Regions from separate parts of the Homo sapiens genome. Here all the other regions are linked to region 1. The links are contacts of gene promoters, found by promoter capture Hi-C in human tissues and cell types (Jung and others, 2019). All regions are on one chromosome and are shown on one strand. Each heading gives the region's core, a stretch centred on a gene start or on the middle of the fragment in contact. The rest is flanking DNA. Distances are from core to core; before and after follow the strand shown. Region 1 holds the start of ACAP3 (ArfGAP with coiled-coil, ankyrin repeat and PH domains 3). Region 2 holds the start of SSU72 (SSU72 homolog, RNA polymerase II CTD phosphatase). Region 3 has its middle 20 kb from the start of LINC02593.

The links. The method cuts DNA at HindIII sites, captures the fragments that hold promoters and counts their contacts. A contact is called where the count stands out against the background at its distance.
Region 2: a contact is called between the fragment with the promoter of SSU72 here and the fragment with the promoter of ACAP3 in region 1, in 1 of the 25 tissues and cell types used here (dorsolateral prefrontal cortex).
Region 3: a fragment that was not itself captured here is called in contact with the fragment with the promoter of ACAP3 in region 1 in 1 of the 25 tissues and cell types used here (lymphoblastoid cells).

The regions. Positions count from the first base shown.
Region 1 is chr1:1,305,357-1,309,343 of GRCh38, reverse strand. It overlaps ACAP3 (ArfGAP with coiled-coil, ankyrin repeat and PH domains 3), which reads left to right and starts at 1,414. Exons shown (of 24, transcript NM_030649.3): 1 at 1,414-1,575. The coding sequence starts at 1,529. PUSL1 (pseudouridine synthase like 1) reads right to left here and starts at 747. Exons shown (of 8, transcript NM_153339.3): 1 at 624-747; 2 at 372-429; 3 at 71-258. The coding sequence starts at 700. RefSeq lists silencers at 106-235, 246-385, 416-485, 706-1,385, 1,426-1,595 and 2 more. The HindIII fragment of the contact is 50,978 bases long and covers 1-3,987 here.
Region 2 is chr1:1,573,008-1,576,824 of GRCh38, reverse strand. It overlaps SSU72 (SSU72 homolog, RNA polymerase II CTD phosphatase), which reads left to right and starts at 1,962. Exons shown (of 5, transcript NM_014188.3): 1 at 1,962-2,347. The coding sequence starts at 2,268. It overlaps SSU72-AS1 (SSU72 antisense RNA 1), which reads right to left and starts at 1,878. Exons shown (of 1, transcript NR_197593.1): 1 at 1-1,878. RefSeq lists silencers at 170-339, 1,999-2,158, 2,399-2,478 and enhancers at 1,689-1,758, 1,769-1,878. The HindIII fragment of the contact is 14,967 bases long and covers 1-3,817 here.
Region 3 is chr1:897,833-901,628 of GRCh38, reverse strand. No RefSeq gene overlaps it. Among named protein-coding and RNA genes, the nearest start is that of LINC02593, 20 kb to the left of the region's middle. RefSeq lists a silencer at 3,501-3,661. The HindIII fragment of the contact is 9,929 bases long and covers 1-3,796 here.

The sequences.
Region 1 (3,987 bases), core at 165-2,664:
TCCAGCCTCCGCCCGCGACAGATGGAGTCGGGAAGGCACAGCCCCAGGGCTGCTTAGGTCGCGGGCTCACCTGATGGCCGGGTGCCGCAGGTGTGTGTTGAGGGCCTCGGCCAGGACCTCGGGCGGGAAGGGCGGCCGGCCTGAGCGGCGCTGGACGTCCAGGTGCGCCGCGTTGCTCAGGGCGTGGACCCCGGCGTCCGTGCGGCTGGAGATGGTGAACCTGACCGGCTCCACGGAATTCAGCCGCTCGGCGGCCTCCTGCAGGACCGAGCCGCGGGGCGGGCGGGTGAGCGAGGCCGGACCCCGGGGACGCGCGGGCGGGAGCCTCCCCCTTACCCCTCACCGGGCGTCCCGTGACCGGCTGAGCGCACCTCCAGGTAGTTCTGGACCCCGACGGCGCGCTGAGTGCCCCTGACGGCCGCGACCCCGCTGCGGGCAGAAGCGGGCGGAGGTTACCGGGGGCGCCCTGCCCTGGGGTCTCCGCCGCCGTCTGAGGCCAGGGCCGCTTCCTTCCCCGAACGTTTGGAACCCGCGTCCAGAGACATCCGCCTGCCCGCCCGCGCCCTCCTTCCCGCCTCCGCCCGGGCCCACGTGGCGCCCGCCGCTGCGCCTGGGAAACCTACTTAAAGTCGGTGCCCACGTACTGGAAGTACACAAGATAGCGCGCGCGCACGGAGCCTGAGGCCGGCGCCGAACTCATGGCGGAGCCCAGCCGGTGGCGTCAGAGGCGGCCTCCAGCGCAGGAATCCTGCGCGCGCGCGGACGCGGCCTGGTCACGCCCCCCCCCCCTCCCCCCCGGCCCCGGCCGCTCTTGCGCCTGCGCGGTGGCACCGCGCCACGGCGGCCAGAGTCGGGGAGCGGAGGCGGGGCCGGGCTTAGGGAGCGGCTGCAAAGTGCCGGCCCGCCGCCGAGCGCAGGCGCTCTACCTCTATCGCGGCGCCCCGGGAGGCGCGCACCAACCACGCGGTCACCCCGCGCTCTCGCGGGCGTGCATTCGTTCACTCGCTCATTCATTCGCCGCCGCCCACACTCCCCGAGCGCGCCCGTTCGCCGCGTTGCGGCCAAGTCCTCCCAGACGTGGTTTTTGCAAACGCCCTGAGTTGCGCAACGGCCGGGATGGTTGGAGCGGGCGGGCCCGCGCCCTCCCCGCGCCCTCCCCGCGCCCCACATTTCCACCGACTGTCCCCGGAGACGGCCGTGGCAGGCCCCGCCTCACTTCCGGACCGGGGTGGTCCCTGGACGCTGCGAGAGGCGTTTGGCGACGCTCCCCGGCGGTGACAGCGGGCGGCGCGCGCGGGCGGCGGACCTTGGCGACGCTCCCCGGCAGTGACAGCGGGCGGTGCGCGCGGGCGGCTGACTTTGGCGACGCTCCCCGGCGGTGACAGGCGGGGCGGGGCGCGGCGCGGCGGCCTCATTCCGGGGCGGGCGGGCGCCGAGGCGGCGCGGGCGGGACGAGCGGTCCGGGCCGGCGCGGCTGCCGCTCGGCGCCGCGGTCCTCGTGCCAGTGAGCGCCGCGGCCGCCGCAGCCATGACCGTGGAGTTCGAGGAGTGCGTCAAGGACTCCCCGCGCTTCAGGTGCGCCGCCCGGGGCCGCCGGGGTGGGCGCAGGCCGGGGGCGTCGCTGTCGCCTTTGTGCCCGGCGGCGGGGTGGGGAGGTCAGCGCCGGGCCGGGCCGCGGCCGCCGGGGAGGGGCTGGAGGACCGGCCTCGGACAAAGCGGCGGCCCCGCCCCGCCATGCCCCGGGGGTTGGAACAAAAGACGCTCCTGCCCTGTGCGGCCGCCCCGGGTGGAGGGCGTGCGCGTGGGCAGCCGTGGGCACCTCGGGACCGTCCGCCCCCGCTCTGTGTCTGCACCTCCACTGGGCTGAGCCCCTCCCGGGCCCTGCAGTCCAGCTCTGGCCAGGGTCGTCTGGGTCCGTGGGGGCGTCGGCCCCTGGTCTCTGACTTGATCCTGTGTCCAGAGCAGCGCGTGGGGAACAGGCAGCTGGAGCCGCGTTTAAGGCCTGGGGTAGGGTGCTTGGAAACGTGAAGTGGTTTGAATGACCCAGGGGCTTGGAGGGGTGGCGGCCGAGAAGAGCGGCGGGGAAGGTCAGGTAGGGGGTAGGGGTTGTGTGCACACCGAGTCTGCATGTTTTCCATCATTCGTGGCGTGCAGGCGTGTACACCTGCGTGAACTACATGTTCACAGACGTGTGCACAAGTGTGCATCGGCTTTGCTTGGTGGACATTTGGCAAACGACAATGGAGGCAAAGAAACCTCTCTGCATCCCCAAGTGCGCACCTGCGTGAGGCCCCCTCCTCTGCACGAGCTCGTGCGGGGTGCGCTCTTGTGAACTTTGCCCCTCTGCGTGCCTCCCTCCGGACACCAGGCCTTGCACAGGACGTGTGGATGAGCTGTGCCACGGGGCTGTGCTTGCTTCTGCATGTAGCCTGCCGATGAGTGCACGCAAGCGTGTGCACACACCACCTGTCTGTGTGGGTTCACGTACTGTGTTAGCCATGTCAGCAATAGACACATCACCTTGTACACGCGTGTTCCATCACTAGGTACACATGTTGATGCGTGTCTGTGCAGTGTCTCCTTGAACACACATGTATGTGTGGTACCAGTGTGTGCAGGCATGTTTGTGCATGAACATGTTTGCACATGTGTGCTTGATTGTGTATGTGTGGGTGTGCACGCGCGCGCTGGGTCTCTTGGGATCTGCTGGCAAGTCAGCATGTGTGTGGAGGCACGGGGAGCCTCTGTATCCCTGGAGCCCTCACCAGGAGGCTCAGGAGCCTTGGAGTGGGAGGCTCAGGGCCAGCCAGGAGAGTGGCCGCCAGCCCTGGGCAGAGGAACTGGGGCCATCCTCTGCTCTCCCATCTTCTGTTGCTGACCTGGGAAAAGGGGTTGAATAACTTGAGCACCCTAGGATCCTGCATTGAGGACCCGGGCTGTGGGGAGGTGTGGGCATGGCCTCCCTGCTGGGGGCTGGACCCTGGCTGAAGCACCCACCTTCTCCCTGGCCCCTCCGTCAGAAGCCTAATGGACCTCCTCCTCCACGCAGACGGCCCTGTACTGCCCTCTTCCAGTCGTGTGGGGGTGCTGGAACCCACTCACCTCTGGGCCTTCTCTCTGGTAACCGGCTCTCATGGGAGCCTGTTACAGGAGCCAGTTATGGGGGCTGTGGGGCTGCAGTAGGTGCCGTAGAGTGACTGCCCTGGGAAAGTGCCTCACCCCTGTGGGGCATGGACTGGAGTGGGGAGATGAGAATGGCCTGGCCCAGTGGGTTTTGGGGTTAGGCTGTGATTTAACTGGGGTTCGAGGGGCTCCCTGAGGCTGTCCTGGGGGCAGGCCCTAAGGGCGTAACTTGAGTTTCCTGGCCTACCGCCAGGTTGGGGGGCCAGGCAGGGTGGGCGGGAAGATGTGGTCTGTAACGTGGAGCCTGGTCGCCCCAGCCCGGGAGAGGGGGACCCTGCCCGCACCCTCCTGGTCTGGGGAGGGCCTAGTGGCAGCCCAGGTGCAGTGGGCCGGAGGCCAGGGGAGCCCGTGTAGGGGAACCGCCTGGCCTCTGTTCAGTGTGCCCCTCCCCTGGGTGGGGCTTCAGGCGCTGAGTCATGGCTTTGGTTGGGGGGCAGCCTCACCCTCCTCCCCGTCCTCCAAGCTGCTGAGGAAATCCTGGGCTGAGCACAGCAGAGGAGGCCTAGGTCCCCAGGACTGAGGAAGGGAGAGCTGAGGGGCTCCCAGCAGTGGGAGCGGCTCTCGGGGCCTCTGCCAGGGCCCACCCTGTCCCCATGAGCACGTCCGTGAGCTCCTGGGTGCAGCCATCCCCCCTTGCTGGCTCTCCAGGGACACGGGCGCCCCAAACCCGAGGGCGGCAGCTCTGGGTGCAGCTGTCTCTGCATCCGGCCCTGCTCAGGGGTGGCTGCAACTCCTGGGGTGTGGCGCTCTCTGCTGCCTTCTCCTGGGAGGATGGTCCCTTCTCTGTTCTGGGATCCTCCAGCT
Region 2 (3,817 bases), core at 713-3,212, 270 kb before region 1:
CTCACTCTGTTGCCAGGGTGAACTGCATAGGCACAATCTCAGCTCATAGCAACCTCCGCCTCCTGGGTTTAGGTGATTCTCCTGCCTCAGCCTCCTGAGTAGCTGGGACTACAAGTGCGCACCACTACATCCGGCTAACTTTTGTATTTGTAGTGGAGACAGGGTTTCACCATGTCGGCCAGGATGGTCTCGATCTCTTGACCTCGTGTTCCACCCGCCTCGGCCTCCCAAAGTGCTGGGATTACGGACGTGAGCCACCGCGCCCGGCTACAAGTACAATTTCTAACAGAATAATGCTGACACAGCACTTTGAGATGATAGAAAGACTACAGAAGTGACAAAAGTTGAAGTTAATAATGGACTCCAGGTTAGACTTAGCCTGAGAGCCACACCCTTCAAACCTCCTTTGATGCTCAAATATGGTAAAAAAGGGTTTTGACAATGACTCCCAGCAGCCACTCTCTCCAGTGTGGGACCAGACCAGCTATCTGGGACAAGTTCATCCCAGCACGGGGACTATCAAAACCTAATTACAGGATGACTCATTAGTGATGCATTTGGAGAAAGATCTCAATCAAAAGGGGAAAATACCCAAGTTGTCAAATAAAAGTGGACTCACTTATGTTTAAAAAATACCTTGACAAAGACAGCTGGGAAAGGCCATGGAGAATTCTCATGAATCAATAATAAGAAAAACTATCACAAGATTCTGCAAAAACCACAACCTTGCACTAAGGCAATCTTACACAAAAAATACTTCAGCAAGGACAGCTGCCCAGCAACTGCCTGTCCAACCCTGGAACGGGAGTACACTTGTTTTTTTTTTTTTTTAGACGGAGTCTGGCTCTGTCGCCCAGGCTGGAGGGCAGTGGCGCGATCTCGGCTCACTACAAGCTCCGCCTCCCGGGTTCACGCCATTCTCCTGCCTCAGCCTCCCGAGTAGCTGGGACTACAGGCGCCCGCCACCACGCCCGGCTAATTTTTTGTATTTTTAGTAGAGACGGGGTTTCACCGGGTTAGGCAGGACGGTCTGGATCTCCCGACCTCGTGATCCGCCCGCCTCGGCCTCCCAAAGTGCTGGGATTACAGGCGTGAGCCACCGCGCCCGGCCGGGAGTACACTTGTTACTGTTCTTTGTAGCCAAGGTTAATTATTTCCAAACCATTATCTTCCTCTTCATTTTTTCTTTAAAAACCATTACTTTCCTGAATGCGCAAATCGTTTACTATGGCACGCATATTCGCCAACGCCCTATTCCCAAATAAATATCATTTTCAGTTAGCCTGTTATTAGGTTGACAATCATTATCACTCCCTCTCCCGTCCGTGGCGCTCCCACGGCAAAACATCAGCCCACTGTCCACCGCGAGGCTGCATCCAGGCAGACAGGCATAGCTGGGGAATGACACACTCGCGTTGACTGGATTTACTGTAACTGGACCCAAATCTCAGACCAGCCGGCGGCCTCTCCAAGGAAGCCCGAGGCGAGGAAGATCCTAGTCGACGTGCACTCCCAACCAGGTCTGTCACAGGTCGGCCCTCGCATTTAAACGTTAAATGTTGAAGGGCTTTCATAAAAGAGCGATGTGCTCCTGCTTGTATGAGCCGGGGCCGGAGGCCGGTAACAGCGGCACGGGACGGGAGCGAGCCTCAGAATGCGGGAATGTCTGTGGGCCTCCGGGACAGTGGAGGGAGCGGGTCTAGTGAAGCGCGACGACTCTGGGGTGGCAGAAGTGAGGACTATGGGCCCCACGGGGACCGAGGGAACGCACAAAATCGTCCCAAGAGACGAAACGCCGGGCCGCGGAAGGGCCCTCAATGCTATCTCCGGCAAGCGCGGCGTTTCGCATCGCTCCCAAAGGCGGCGGCGACACCTTATGACGTCCTGTTGTTCCGCACGTCGTCGCGTCACACTAGGCGCCGGCGCGGGGTGCTGATGTCAGGACGCCGCCGCTTGGCGCCGTGACGCTCAGCCGGGCCTTGTGGAGTGCGGGTCTCTGCTGCGGACGCCGGGGGCCGGCGCGGCGTTGGCCGCCCCCGGCCTCGCCGAGTGCAGCGCGCCCGAAGGCCAGTGCCTGCGCTCCGTCCGCGGCCCGGCGCCCAGGGTGGGCGGGGAGGCCGCCGCGCAGTCGCCGCACGCTACACCGCCGGCGCCGTCGTTTCGCGTCGCCCGCTTCCGGCCACCGCGGCCGCCATTTTGTTCGCGCGGAAGCGCCGCGGTAGGGTGGGAACCCAAGCGGGAGAGCCGCGGGATTTGCGGCCGCCGCCATGCCGTCGTCCCCGCTGCGGGTGGCGGTGGTGTGCTCGAGCAACCAGAACCGGAGCATGGAGGCGCACAACATCCTCAGGTAGTTGGGCTCCACCCTGTCCCCGCGCGCTCTGCTCCGGCGACCGGCCCTCCCTCCTCCCCGGTTCCCCCTGGCCCGCGCCAGGACCCCTGAGAGGAAGCCGGGCCGGGCCGCGCTCGTGGGTCGGCTGGTTGGGATGGCAGCTGGACGGCAGCGCGCGTAGTCCACACGCGGGTGGGCATCACAGGGAAGGCAGGTTCCGGGACGAGGCGCCCGCTGTCCGGTGGTCCTTCGAGCTCTCCGAGGCCGGGCCCGGGGGGCGAGGGTAGCGTCCGCGGCGAGGGGCTGCGCGGCGGCGGCCGATCATGGTATTTCGTGTGCGTCGTTGGCCACCTTCCCTGGAAACGGCGCGCAACACAATCACGGCATACCACGATGTTGTAAATAACAAAGCGGTCTCTTTTTTTAATGCCATGGATTTGTGTGTTTGCTACTTCTTCTTCTTTTTTTTTTTTTGCGAAAGATCCTCTCTTCCTCCCTGGAACGCCTCCAACCGGTAGTTTCTGGAATACAACGTGGACTTGGTTTGGCTCTGCTAGTTTATATTCCCTGCTAACTGGCCGCCTGTGACTCTTGCGTAGCGTATGTCTAATGAAAGTTTATTCCTGCTTGATAACAAGTTTTTTGTTCAGTCACATAGCAAACTGAGAAACTGACCACTTGACTTACAGTTAAAATTTGGTATGTGTCAACTTTGATAGTAAGAAAGTTGAAATGGCTTTTTTACCTCCAAAGTTACCTACGTGAACTTTAAATGAAAACAGTGTTTCGCTTCTCTTCTCGCAGTCCAGCTATAACTTTCCTGAGCAACTTGGGAAAATTAACAGTCCCCCTTTTTTTTCCGTTTTTAACAGTGTCACGTGGGCCAGGCACGGTGGCTCACGCGTGTAGTCCCCGCACTTTGGGAGGCCGACGCACGCGGATCACCTGAAGTCAGGAGTTGGAGACCAAAAAACACCCCCCAAAAATCAGTGTCAAGTGTTCATGATCTGCTGATTCTTTCTCTTTATTCTTTTCTTTCTTTTTTTTTTTTTTTTTTTTTTTTTTTGAGACAGAGTCTTGCTCTGTCGCCCAAACTGGAGTGCAGTAGCGCGATCTCGGCTCACTGCAACTTGTGCCTCCCGAGATCGAGCTATTCTCCTGCCTCAGCCTCCCGAGTAGCTGGGACTACAGGCACCGGCCACCAGGCACGGCTAATTTTTTTTTTTTTTTGTATTTTTAGTAGAGACGGAGTTTCATCATCTTAGCCAGGATGGTCTTGATCTTATGACCTCGTGATCTGCCCGCTCGGCCTCCCAAAGTGCTGGGATTACAGGCGTGAGCCACTGCGCCCGGCTTTTTTTGTATTTTTAGTAGAGACGGAGCTTCACCATGCTGGCCAGGCTAATCTCAAACTCCTGACCTCAGGTGATCTGCCCGCCTCGGCCTCCCAAAGTGCTGGGATTACAGGCGTCAGCCACCGCATCCGGC
Region 3 (3,796 bases), core at 691-3,190, 410 kb after region 1:
AATAGTAAAACGAACACTGCTGTGGCTCCCACTTTGAGAACGCATGTTGCAAATGCGTCATATGTCCTGTGAGTGACACACACTCTCTCCACAAACTCCAGCCTGGCTTCTCAAGGCCTCCTCTGGGCAAAGCCCCGTCTTTGGTCTGTGAAGACTTGGATAAAACAGCAACATAGTTTCTCACAGCCCAAGGGTCTGCCATCGCCACATGCCCACCTGAGCAAACTGAAGGCTGTGGAAGAAACTCCTGTTCCGACACCTGAGGAGACACCTGGGCAGCTGCCAACCAGGTGGGCTGAATGCACATGGACCAGCCCCTGCCCACCTCCACTGAGCCCCTGGTTTCCCTCTTTTCTTGTACTCTCTCTGTTTTCACTTTACATACACTCTTTTTTTATTTTTTGGACACAGCGTTTCACTCTGGTTGCCCGGGCTGGAGTGCAGTGGTGCAATCTTGGCTCACTACCACCTCGACCTCCGAGGCTCCAGCGATCCTCCCACCTCAACCTCCCAAGTGGCTGCGACTACAGGTGTGCGCCACCACACCTGGCTAATTTTTGTATTTTTAGTAGAGATGGGGTTTTGCCATGTTACCTAGGCATGTCTCCAACTCCTGAGCTCAAGTGATCCACCAGTCTTGGCCTTCCCAAGTGCTGGGATTGCAGGTGTGAGCCACCATGCCCAGCCTACTAAATAAACTCTTTTTAAAGAACGGTTTTAGATTCACAAAACAATTGAGAAGACGGAACAGAGTTTACAAACGCCTGGCACCCAGTTACGCTGGTACTAACGTGTTACATTAGCGTGGCACTTGTTACAACTACTTGTTACAACGAATGCACCAATATTGATGGATTCTTATTAACTAAAGGCCACATTTTATTCAGGTTTTCTTAGTTTTTACATAATGTCCTTTTCTTTTCCAGGATCCCAGGATATATTCCATTTAGTAATCAAGTCTCTTTAGGTTCCTAAACTGTGAGTTTTTCAGACTTTCCTTTTTCCATGACCTTGGCAGTTTTGAGGAGGGCCAGTCAGGTATTTTGGAGAATGTCCCTCAATTAGGATTTGTCTATTTTCCTCACGATTATACTGAGGTTCTGGTTTTTTTTGGGGAGAAAGACCCAGAGTCAAGTGTGCAGAGGTCAAGTGATCACTGCCGATGTTAACCCTGGTCCGTCTTCACTCCACCACTGACCTCCACTCTGCACTCCTGAGAAGGAGGTCACTGCGATGAGCCACGTTGGAAGAAGGAGGTCGCTGCGATGAGCCGCGTTGGAGAGGTGGGGAGTTAGGCTGGATCTCCTCAAGAGTGGAGCCTCCACTTAGGTTATTTAGAACTATTCTGCACTGGAGATTTGTCTGTTCTCCCCCATGATAGATATTTAACCTCACGTTTACATATCAGGATGGACTCAAGTTCCCTTTAAAATGTGGGGTGACTGTGGGGGCAGGGAGGTCTGTGAAGGGGCAGGGTCACCTGTTGCCATGAGGAGGGTGCTGTTTGTGTATGTGACGCTGTGTGTGGGAGGCCTTGGGCCTGGGATGGTGTGGAAGGGCCAGCGCAGGAGTCTGAGTGGGCTGGCATCTCTGGCCTCAGCCAGCAGGACCACCCCCTGCTTACTTGCCCAGATTTTATCTCCAGCATCTCCTTTATCCTCATTCCTCACACTGGTTTGGTCTCCCATCCCACCCCATCCCTGCATCCCATCCTGTTTCAGCCAGTGTCCCACTTCCTGGGCTGGTACCCATCTCCCTGCAGCCGGGGTGCACGTGCTGAGCCATCAGTGGACCTGTCTGGCCACAGTGTGGGCCTCTGTGAGCCATGGGATGAGCCAGGCTCCCTGGGGGACAGTGGGGCAGGAGTACAGCTGACGATGCCACGCTGTTGTGCTAAACATCTTCTGATTTTTTTCAGAAGAAGCCAGAAATCCAGATTTTTAAAACATGGAATCTCCTTAATCGCCCTTTCAGAATCAGCATCCTGGTGTGCCAGGCTCGTCCTGGGTCTCCAAGCGATTTCCCCCTTCGTTCCCCACTCTCTCTCATGTCCCTGAAACCCCTCGGACACCTGAGCTGATGTATTGGCCGCTCGTCCCCATATCTGCCACGGGGCTCCATGCCACGTGCTTTCTGCTCAGGCCCGTGTTATTGGACTGCAGACCTGGGGTGAGTGCCCGTCATCCAGCACTGATTTGGATCCATCTGTGGACGCCGTGTCTGAGCACTTAGGAGTATTCCGTGCAGGCACCCCCCATTCTGGTTTGCTTATTCCCTCACTGTGGGCCAGAAGGTGCCCCCAGCCGGGCGCGGTGGCTCATGCCTGTAATCCCAGCACTTTATGGGAGGCCGAGATGGGCGGATCACGAGGTCAGGAGATCGAGACCATCCTGGCTAACATGGTGAAACCCCGTCTGTACTAAAAATACAAAAAATTAGCCAGGCACGGTGGCGGGCGCCTGTAGTCCCAGCTACTCGGGAGGCTGAGGCAGGAGAATGGCGTGAACCCGGGAGGCGGAGCTTGCAGTGAGCCGAGATCGCGCCACTGCACTCCAGCCTGGGTGACAGAGCAAGACTCCGTCTAAAAAAAAAAAAAAAAAAAAAGAAGGTGCCCCCAACTCCCAGGATCTGAAGCAAAGCTGAAATGAGCGCGCCCACAGCTGTTCCCTCGCAGTTCCGGAAGTGGCCTGGAGCAGAGGCTGCATCACAGGACGTGAACACTTCACGTTGCCGAGTGCCTGCAGAGTGCGTTCTGGAAGACGCCCATCCGCTCACAAGCTCCCAGTGGTGCCTCAGGACCTCCACCTGTCACATGTTTGCCGACCGCTGTGTACATATAAGGGGTACAGTGGTGTGTGACTTTTGTTTTTTAATGCATTCAGTTGGAAGAGTTTAAATGTTGAAATGAGAATGACTTAATATTGGTTACTGTTGGGAACAGGCCCCCCAAAATCTGGCCATAAACTGGCCACAAAACTGGCCATAAACAAAATCTCTGCAGCACTGTGACATGTTCATAATGGCCCTAACGCCCACGCTGGAAGGTTGTGGGTTTACCGGAATGAGGGCAAGGAACACCTGACCCGCCCAGGGTGGAAAACCGCTGAAAGACGTTCTCAAACCACAAACATAGCATGAGCGATCTGTGCCATCAGGGCATGCTCCTGCTGCAGATAACTAGCCAAACCCACCCCTTTATTCCGGCCCATCCCTTCATTTCCCGTAAGGGATACTTTTAGTTAATAGAAACAATGCTAATGACTGGTTTGCTGTTACTAAATATGTGGGTAAATCTCTGTTCGGGGCTGTCAGCTCTGAAGGCTGTGAGACCCCTGATTTCCCACTTCACACCTCTGTATTTCTGTGTATGTGTCTTTAATTCCTCTAGTGCCGCTGGGTTAGGGTCTTCCTGACCGAGCTGGTCTCTGCAAGTGGCGTCCATCGTGGGGGCTCGAATCCAGGTCGAAGGGTCGCCAGAGCGACGGTTGGAGAACGTGGAACTAGCTGGAGGACACCTGAGTACTCTTAAAGCCATCCCCGTGGTGAGTAAGAAGGGGAGCTCGGAAGCATCAGGGTAACAATGGGACAGGCGTGGGGTCTGGTTCGTTTCACCTTGGAACCTTTTCACACTGATGAGGAGGAGGAAGGAGAGTATAGCGACGTAACAGAAGAGGTTACAGACCAGGTTTGTTTGCCAGCTAAAGCTGAAGCGGCAAAGGAGGGAGAGGTTCATCCCTACCCTTCTGCACCCCCTCATTATTATTTTGAAGAAAATGACCCTCCAGGTATTTCTTTT